Linked DNA regions of Homo sapiens: region 1 is linked to region 2. Evidence: promoter capture Hi-C in 16 types of primary human blood cells and fetal thymus (Javierre and others, 2016). All regions are on one chromosome and are shown on one strand. Each heading gives the region's core, a stretch centred on a gene start or on the middle of the fragment in contact. The rest is flanking DNA. Distances are from core to core; before and after follow the strand shown.

The links. The method cuts DNA at HindIII sites, captures the fragments that hold promoters and counts their contacts. A CHiCAGO score of 5 or more calls a contact.
Region 1: a contact is called between a fragment that was not itself captured here and the fragment with the promoter of SLC41A1 in region 2, in 1 of 17 cell types (naive B cells). The highest score is 5.1, in naive B cells.

Annotation. Positions count from the first base shown.
Region 1 is chr1:206,011,154-206,016,520 of GRCh38, reverse strand. CTSE (cathepsin E) reads left to right here. Exons shown (of 9, transcript NM_001910.4): 5 at 391-590; 6 at 2,627-2,749; 7 at 3,872-4,013; 8 at 4,115-4,213. Among named protein-coding and RNA genes, the nearest start is that of CTSE, 10 kb to the left of the region's middle. RefSeq lists an enhancer at 4,100-4,600. The HindIII fragment of the contact is 2,766 bases long and covers 1-2,722 here.
Region 2 is chr1:205,811,612-205,816,549 of GRCh38, reverse strand. SLC41A1 (solute carrier family 41 member 1) reads left to right here and starts at 3,352. Exons shown (of 11, transcript NM_173854.6): 1 at 3,352-3,742. RefSeq lists silencers at 2,992-3,221, 3,362-3,621 and an enhancer at 3,058-3,558. The HindIII fragment of the contact is 5,321 bases long and covers 2,247-4,938 here.

The sequences.
Region 1 (5,367 bases), core at 90-2,589, 200 kb before region 2:
GTAGGCAAAATTTTCTGAAACAAGTTACAAAAAAACAGTGTACAATAAGCACATGATGAGTGACAGAAGCCAGATACCAAAGAGTTCATATGGGATGATTCCATTTATATAAAATCCAAAAAATAGGCAAAACCAATATATGTTATTAGAAGTCAGGAGACTGGCTCTTCTTGAGGAGGGGCGCAATGATTGGCAGGTGCATGAGGGCTTCTGAGGTTTGGAATGTCCTGTTTTTTGGGAATATAGCAAGCATCTTTGTGCTCATTTAGTCAAGGAAAGTTGGGAAGGAGAGGCATTAGCTTCAAGACAGAGGAAAATCCAGGAGTCAAACCCTTTGCCAGCAATCCCCTGTGCCATTCTCCTGTTCTCCTGTGGGCTTTCTCCTACCAGGTGGAAGGACTAACCGTGGTTGGCCAGCAGTTTGGAGAAAGTGTCACAGAGCCAGGCCAGACCTTTGTGGATGCAGAGTTTGATGGAATTCTGGGCCTGGGATACCCCTCCTTGGCTGTGGGAGGAGTGACTCCAGTATTTGACAACATGATGGCTCAGAACCTGGTGGACTTGCCGATGTTTTCTGTCTACATGAGCAGGTAAGGCCCATCAAGTCTGTGAGGTTAAAGTCAGTTATAACTACAGGGAGACAACACATACACTTGACTTAGCAGTCAAAAGACCTGGTTTAGGTAGCTTGGTCCATTACCAGCTGTGTGATCTTAGTCAAAACATTTAACCTCTCTGAATATTGAGGAAATGGGATTTGCTTCATCAAGTAGCTGTAAAAACACTTTGTAAACTCTACCACACTGGCTTAAATTTAAGGAATCTCTGGGATTGGTTCTTCATTGATGCTGTCACTAAATATCAAGCTCCTATTATATGCTGATTATGATGCTCACACTGGGGACCCAGTGAAACAAGAAAGACAGTACCTGCAGGAGGAGGAGGCAGAAAAAAATGAAAAGCTGACAATAAAATAATTGCATGCTGATGGATGAATAAACAAAATGTGGCATATCCAAATAATCAAATATTATTCAGCCTTAAAAAGGAAGAAAATTCTGAGACATGCTACAACATAGAAGAAACTTGAGGACATAATGCTAAGTGAAATAAGCTAGTCACAAAAAGACAAATACTGTATGATTCCACTTAGGTGAGGTACCTAGACTAGTCAAATTCATAGGCAGAAAGTAGACTGCCAGTTGCCAGAGCCTGGGGAGGGGAAGTGAGGAATTCTTAAACCGTTGTTGATGGCCTAATGGGTATAAAGTTCCAGTTCTGTAAAATGAAAGGTCTGGATTTTACAACAGTGTGAACATACTTAACACTACTGAATTGTAGACTCAAAAATGGGTAAGATAGTACATTTTATGTGACATATTTTTACAACAATTTTTAAAATTGCACATTGTTTTTGGAAAAGGTCATGAGGCTCACCTGTTTCTAGGCACTCTTGCCCGGCATCCTTGGAGGGTCATCTCCTCTTCCTCCTTACACAGGAAGGTGATTTCTGACCTTGCTGACTTTTTCCAGCTCAGACCTGGCCTGCGTTCACACTGTTTCAGCATAAGCCCATTCCTCTCATTCCCCTCTCCCACATGGAGGGTCCTGGATTTTCCCTATCAAGCTATGTTTCCTCTCCAGCATGACAGCACTCAGGACCAGGCCTAGGAAGAGCTGTGAGTAAGAGAGGCAAGTTGTCTAGACACCTCTGCTTCCCCTTGCAGAACTTCCTTCTCCCGTCGCCTGGGAAAAGTGGGCTGTAATGGAGAATATCAAGGCTTGGCAGTCAGACTGGCCTGGATTTGAATCCTGCCACTTACATTGCTTCATCTCACTGAGGCTCAGTTTCTTCCACGGACCACTAGGTTGATGTGAGTTAAATAAGTTTAGACAGATAAAATCCCCACTACACGGCCTTGCACCAAGGTAATCAACAAATGTGAGTTCCTTTCCCCACTCCCTCTGTAAAACCACTGTCCTAAAATTCCTACAGGTATTCACTCCTCTCCCTCTTTACCACCCTGATTTCAGTTTTGTATCTTTCTGATCCTTTTCCTCCTCAAAATGAATCTGTCTTAGGTCCTATTTCTCCAGAGTCCTGCTAGGTTCCAGAACATAATCTGAGAAATCAATACCAATGAAAATAAGTTTTCAGGCTCTAGTAAGTCATGATACATTCATATTAGCCTCTTTGCCTTAACATAAGGAGTGAATAACACAAAAACGCCAGGCACTGTCACAACCATAGTGGGGAAGATACTTTGGGAAAAGGTGTCTTTGGGGGTTGCTTCAAGCCACACAGTGTATACCCACCCAGGATGGTCCTGGCCTTGGTTCTGAATGACAGACCTGCTGGCCCCATTTCCCACCTCCTTAACCTTTTTATCCAAGAAGCAGAAACACATTCACAAATGGTCAAGGGGAGTTGTTTCTAACCTTGTGTCAAAAAGGCCCAGACCAATTCACTTGCAGTAGTCAGAGTCCCGGTCTCAAAGCCCAGACTGATGTTTCTGCCTACCTGTGTGCTTGGCATGAGACCAAGAAGCAAAGGGTCCTAGCTGAGGCTCACCCCTAGAGTTTTGCAGTGGCCCTTCCTGGACAGTTTGTCTTTCTCTCCATGTAGTAACCCAGAAGGTGGTGCGGGGAGCGAGCTGATTTTTGGAGGCTACGACCACTCCCATTTCTCTGGGAGCCTGAATTGGGTCCCAGTCACCAAGCAAGCTTACTGGCAGATTGCACTGGATAAGTGAGTATTCCCCATGAAGTAGTGACAGTACTAGGGGTAAACTGAAAAGAGGCACAACTCAAACCGATTTAACTGAAAAACCACTGGTCACTAGCAGAGGATGCCAGAAGCTTACTGTGGTTGGAGGTATGGAGGTGCTGAGCAAGTGTGCAGGAAGGGACCTCTGTAACCAGGGCAGCAGACACAGCTTCCTTCCTTGTACACATGGCGTGCTTTTAACTCAACATACAGTCAATACCAGTGCACAGCCTGCTCCCCTTTGTTCTTTTAACATTAACACACAAGGCAAGGGATGAGTAACATGGGGGGTTGCACAGGTGAATTGGGCTCAGATCTTGTCCTCAAAAAACTTGTACAGAAGATGAGATGCACCCAAACCACTATCCTGTAAAATGGAAGGTGGTCAGTGCTCCAAGAGAGGTGCCACCAATGTGGTCCAGCAGACAGGCATGACCGCTTCTATCTGAATGCTCCAGTGCATCATGGAGGGGGTTACATTGAAACTGAGCCAGGAAATATATACAATATCTGGGCACGAAGCAATTGGGGAAGTGGGACTACATGCCTGCCTCATACCTAGCGCCGTGCTAGACAATGCAGGAATTGGAAAAGTGTAGTTCAAGTTTCAATTCAGCTAGGATTGAGTTCCTGCAAGGTACCAGGCATTAGGAATGCAAAAAATAAAAGGCCTCAATGCTCACTGTCTATTCAGAGTTTTTCAAACTGTAGGAATTCACCTATTTATGGGTCATGACATCATTTTAGAAGATCCTGACCTGACCAGGTGTGGTGGCTCACACCTGTAATCCCAGGACTTTGGGAGGCCGAGGCAGGTGGATCACAAGGTCAAGAGATTGAGACACCTACATTTTTTAGACGAATTGGAATACAGTAGAAAATACCAGAGTGCACTTCAATTGCATGAATGTGTGTGTGTGTGCACTGGGTCAAGAAGTAAACAGATTTCTTCCTATGGATCTCAGTAGAAAACAATTGAGGAACACTCATATGGTGGGTGGAAATCATTGATGTGCTCCAGGCATTTGAGAGGCCAAAAAAGAGTGGGAGTTTCCTAGGAGCCGGGGGAGGGAAGGTGGGCCGACCACAACCCTGTCCCCTCAGCATCCAGGTGGGAGGCACTGTTATGTTCTGCTCCGAGGGCTGCCAGGCCATTGTGGACACAGGGACTTCCCTCATCACTGGCCCTTCCGACAAGATTAAGCAGCTGCAAAACGCCATTGGGGCAGCCCCCGTGGATGGAGAAGTGAGTGCCTGCCTGCGCAAGGGAGTGGTGGGGACAGGAGAGCCAGGCCTTCTCTTGGGAGGTGGCAAGGCTCTAAACGGATCCTCCGTATTGGGTTTTAGTATGCTGTGGAGTGTGCCAACCTTAACGTCATGCCGGATGTCACCTTCACCATTAACGGAGTCCCCTATACCCTCAGCCCAACTGCCTACACCCTACTGGTAAGAACTGTTTCCTTATTCTGCAGGCCACAGGGCCCTCCCCACATGCCTGCCACTTCCCCTTTTCAATCGCCTGCACTTTGCCCGCCTTTACCCTAAGCCCCGCCCCACGTTGTTCTGCTCTCATGTGGCATTCCCTCTGGGAGGGACACAGCTGCCTGTGGTGGAAAGACCACGGGGCTTGCTCTAATTTCCAGTTCTGCCATGAAGCAGTAGTGAACTTCAGGCAAGCCATTTAAGGAAGTCTTCTGATATTGCCATGTAGGGCTTTTCCACTGACAAAGTTTAATCTCCTCAACCACCAGGTCAGACTGGAGCTATTACTATCTCATTTTATAGGTGAGAATATCAAGACTCAGAGAGTCAAATAAATGGTTCAAGATATGAGCTGTTTGCAGGGAGGAGTGGAGAATAAGATTATATTTGTTCTAACTTCAAATTAACATTCCTCCTCTAGCAAGAAAATGTCTTTTGTTGCAGTAAATTCTCAAGTTTGTAGGGTGAAGTAGAAAGGGAACTCCCAGACCTTTTGGACACCTATGAGCACCTCACACCACAGTTGGTCTGAATTTTCAGCATTCTAGGTATTCGGCACCACACTTCAACACACTAATTTTTCCAAGAGTCACTCACAGCATCAGGGTGACTGCATCAGAAGAGGGGTGCTAAGGTATAGACTGAGGGCTTCAGCCCTACCCCTAAGCCTCTATTAACTCCTTCCCAAAGCCACCAACAGACAATCCAAATAAAAACAAATGTTTGCTTTAAAACACAGCTTCATGGTAAGTCCCCTAAGCTCCTGCCACATAGGGATTATGGAGCTGCCACTCTGAACACCACACTGAGGACCAGTGAGACATTTAGACTGAGCCCTGTTCATCAGTCCACATGCCCATCAACACCCCAGCACACCCACACTCTCACCTTCCCCCACGTGAGTTGAGTCCCTGCCCAGGTGGAAATCACTGATGTGCTCCAGGCGCTGGAGAGCCCAAAAAAGAGTGGGAGTTTCCTAGAAGCCAGGGGAGGGGAGGTGCGTGGTTCTTTCCCGGTATGGTGAGTGGTTCTTTTAGAAGATCATTTTAGAAGATCATGACCTGACCGGGCATGGTGACTCACACCTGTAATCCCAGGACTTTGGGAGGCCGAGGCGG
Region 2 (4,938 bases), core at 2,103-4,602:
GAGGTTCTTGTCATACAAAGGTCCACAGTGATGCTCAGAGACCCTCACTATCTTTTTGATACCCCCAACTGCGTCTCTCCTTCTGAAGTATCTGGCTGGCCTGCTACTTGCTGGTAGTTCCTGTCTTTTCATCTGTGACCTCCGCTCCCTACATCTGTGCTCATCATTTCACAGACTGTAGCTATTTCTGCTCTTTCAGTAGAGAAGGGCCAGGATGTCTTCCTCTTCCTAAGGTCACAGCTGGCTAAGCCAGAGGAAATCTGCTTCCCCCAGGTCCTCTTGGTGTTTGACTCTAGGGATCAGCACAATACAGAGCAAAGTACCTACATCAGCTTTATCCACCTCATCCATCATTCATTCAACATATTTATTAAGTACCTACTATGTGCCAGGAGCTGGGTTTACACTAGTGATCAAAATAGATATAGAGATTATATTCTTGTTCCAGTGGCCCTGACACTTCAGAAGACACCAAAACCAAGGGCTTTTGTATTTATTTACTCATAGAAATATTTGCAATACCTATAACCAACAAAGGACTCGTATCTGATATTCATAAAGAACTCCTACAAAGTGGTAAGACAGGGCTGGGCTCAGTGGTTCACACCTATAATCCCAGCACTTTGGGAGGCCAAGGCGGGCGGATCACTTGAGGTCAGGAGTTAGAGACCAGCCTGGCCAACATGGTGAAACGCTGTCTCTATCAAAAATACAAAAATTAGCCTGTCATGGTGGCATGTGCCTGTAGTCCCAGCTACTCAGGAGACTGAGGCAGGAGAATCACTTGAACCCAAGAGGTTCCAGCCTAGGCAACAGAGCAAGATACCATCTCAAAAAAAAAAAAAAAAAGTAGTAAGACAGAAGGAATAGAATAATAGAAAATGGACATGATACTTGAACAGATATCCAAGGGTCAAATAAATGCATGGAAAGGTGGTCAACTTCATTGGTTATCAGGATAAAGCAAATTTAAACTACAATACCACTATACACCCACCAGAATGGCTAAATTTTTTAATTTTTCTAGATTGACAATATCAAGTGTTAATGAGAATATAGAGCAACTGGAACACTAAGACGCTGCTGGCAGGAGTGTAAATTAATATGAGCACTTTGAAAAATTGTTTAGTCGCATTTGCTAAAGCTAAAAATATGCATATCCTTTTATGACCCAGTAATTCTATTCCTAGGTATATATCTAGTATAAATATGAACGTAAGTGTACCAAAGGACATGAACAAAAACGTTATCGCAGCCTTATTCATAATAACCCCAAAGTAGGAACAACCAAAATGTCCGTCAACAGAATAACAGATAAATTGTGGTATATTTATTTAATGGCATACCGTACGGCAATGAAAACAAATAAGCTACTGCTACCACAATGTTTTGGATGAGTTTCATAAACATAGTATTGAGTGAGAGAAGCCAGACACAAAATAATACCTACTGAATGGTTCCATGTATATAAAGTTCAGAAGTAAGCAAAACTAACCTGTAGTGTTAGATAAACGTTACTTTTGAGAAGGAGTGTGGCATAGTCACCAGGAGCGGATAGAAGGAGGGTATCTGGGATGCCAATAATGATCTCGTTCTAGATCTGGATGGTGGTCATATGGGGGTGTTCACTGTGTCATCATTTGTTGACCTGTACACTTAGGTTTCGTGTTCCTTTCCTAAATGCCTGGTATATTTCAATTAAAAAAATACACACAGGAGAGGGGAACAGTTTTCGAGTAAGTAAAAACACGGAAGGTAGAAAGGAAATAGGAGAGAGATCAAGATTTTATACACAGGTAGCTGAGCTGTGGCCAGATTAAATGGGGTAGTGGAGGGGAGGGAACTGTTGAATAGAACAGGGCAGAAGTTGCCTCCAGCCCAACCAAAGTTCCTCCAGATACATCAGCCTTAATTCCCCACCCAACCCCACACCCCGTATTCACAAACCTCATCTTTCTGGACAAGTCCCAGCATTTCCTAGACTAGCAGCTACTTCTCCTGGCAGAAAAACCCAGTATTTGAGGCCAAAACTGGGGTCTGAGACACTGATATTTTGCTCTAGTAGGTCCTGTGAGTCTGCAGGCCCTTGATGCAAATGCTCCAGAGCTGATCTGGAATCATCCTGGGGGTACTGGTTTGGGGTGGGTGAGGGGAACAGGGTTTGGTATGTGTATTTGTCATCCTTATCAAAAGGAATGACCTGCTCAGGTTGCTGTGTGTGCTCTTGTGAGCACGTGCCCAAAGCTTCATACACAGCACTGCGATCTCTTCTCCCCAGGCACATCTCCGCTCCAAACCCTATTCAGGGGTCTAGAGCCATGTTCGAATGCCCCCGGGCTACTTTCAGGGAGGAAAAGGACAGGAAGGAACCGTTGGTCACAGGTTCCACTGACAAGAGGGGAAAACTTGGGAGTGGGGGTTCCTTTATGAGGGAGGTCACACCCCCTGCACAAAAACATCCCAAAGAGAACTGGCATTGAGCTTGTGTTGGAGAGGTGGAGATACCCCAGGGAGGAAGTGGCGAAAGGTGAGCATGGGAACACCCCTCTTTGATCCCACAAGGTGCGTCAGGGAAAGTTGGATTTCATTTAGTCCGGGATGGTGACATCTCTCCGCACGCTGCCACCAGGCTCAGTGGGTCAGAGGAAGTGAGGCTCCCCTCCTCTCCGACCTCAGGTGATGCGTGTGCGACCCCAGCCATGGGTCTGACCTCCTTTCGCTCCCGCCCGCCAGTCTCCACCCCTTTCAAGGCCGGGACTTTTTTAAGGCCGGATTCGTCAGGGGTGAGCCATTTGCTCAAGGAACGCGGAATCTGGAGGGAGCCTAAAGTGACGAGCCGGCGGGAGAAGAGCAAGGTAGGGACTGTTCTGTCCGGGTACCAAGTGGGAGGAGGGAGCACGCGGCTGGCTGCTTGAGCCCGGGGGTCAGAGGTGGCTGGCTGGCTGGCTCCACAGGGACGTTTACCGGTCTTCCCGAAGGCCAGAGGCTCCAAGGAAACATCCAGAGGCAGGAGAGGACGCGCACTGTCGCACACGCCTCTCAAAGTCTGCTGGGGCTCCGACGCGGCGCAGCGGGCCCGGGGGCGGTAGCACCACGCAGCGAGCCCGGGCAGCGGGCCCCTCGGACCCCGGGCCGATGGGCGCTGGGACCCGCGCGCTCCAGGCGCATGGAGCCGGCTCCCGGTTCCCGTCACTCCTCCTACTGCGTTTCCCCGGCGCCCCGCCTCCTGGGCACGAAGCGAAGGAAGGGGGCCGGGCCGAGGTTGATCCCGCCCCCTCCCCAGTCCCTGATTGGCTGCTGCTGTTGTCCATCCGAGAATCTATTTTTGATGGAGCGGGGGGGGTGCCACCCAGTCTGCCCCAGATCACGTTTGCCACCGGCAGCCAACCAGTTGGGCCCGAGTCCGCGGGCAAGAAGCGATTGGGGGCGCGTGAGCTCGGCTCCCCGGTCCCCCGTCCGGGTGCCCCCCCGCCGGGCCCGAAGCGATATATCCTGCCCTCCCCGGCCACCTCCCCCGCGTGGAAGCGGAGCGGCGGCCTCGCTGTAACGCAGAAGCGAAATGTAGCGAGCCGGGTGTCGCGGCTGGACGCTCGCCTTGGCTGGGGGTGTGGGGGGGCACGCCGGGGGCCAAGGAGGACTGTCGAGGAGGAGTGATGAGAAGAGGGGGTGCCCTGCACCCCCCGAGACCACGGGCCACGCTGCCACTTGCCAGGCGCCCCCCTTCCTCCCAGGCGAGGGGCAGGTCAGTCCTGTGGGGTCCTGGGGCGGGGAGGGGGTGGTGGAGGGCGGCAGTCCTGGCGCGCAGCGCATTTGCTGAATCTGAGTGGTGGAGAGACTGAGGAGGCCACCCAGTTACTTTCTCTCCCTCCTCGGGGTTGGGGATACTAAAATGGGTCTTTTTTGTCCCCGCCTGGGAGGAGGGGATAGGGCGTCCTGGTTCACTTTTGCTTCTTTCGTCCCAGGGCCTTAGGCCTGTCTGAAGTCTCTTTACAGGGGGAGTGGTGAGGGAGGACTGGCTTCCCCTCCTGGGAGCCCCCTCTCAGGTTCAGTGGCCTGCCAGGAACACAGGAGGGAGGCGGGGGTGTCAGCTTTTAGCGGACTCAGAAACTTTTCTGGCATAGGGGCACTGGACTCAGAGGTTTCCTCCTGGATCTCTGGTGAGGGAGTTTGAAAGAACCACAGTACTGTGTTTAAGGAGATTGGAAAAGGGAGTCCTGGTGGGTGACTGAATTGATAGAGGAAACAGTTCTCCTGGGCCAGTTCCTGGGGTTTGATACCTCCTTTCCTAAACTGAACTTGACTAATTGTGTGTGTTTGGAATACTTAAGGACCTGTTCCTCTTACCTGGTGGAACTCTCTTTAAATTTATTTTTTACGAATAAGAGCTCTTCTGGTGAAATGGAATAGGATGGGAGTCCATCAGGAATTAGGAAGCCTGGGGATTCCTTTAGGCAGAGAAGTGGAGCCATTACAGCTAAAGAGATGCATTTGGAGCAAGTGCATATTGGCTTACGGTGCTTTGGTTTTTGTTTTGGGTTTTTTTTATTGCTACTTTTGTTTTTTTGTTTTTGTTTCTAAGAATTCCACTATATCCAACTCTCAGTAACCCTGGGGAACAGGAGGAGCCTAATTAACTGAAATGCGTGGGTAATAAGCAATCGTTTTATGCTCTGTCCCTTCTAACTGAGATAACTCCCTTGTCCTATCTGACAAGCTCACAGGGCCAAGAGCAGGGGGAGACGGGGAGAGACAGAGGCCTGGATCCGAGTCAGCTGTCTGAGCTCTTTGTAACACTGTTGACTCTCAAGGGCAGGAGTGGGTAGGCCTCTGGCTCTTGGCCTTGGTCTGGCAGGCTTGCCCCACTGCCCAGGGAGTCCTCCTAGCTTTGTTTTGTTTTCTCAGAAGCTAGAACGATCTGGGGTCTGGGGGACTTCACTC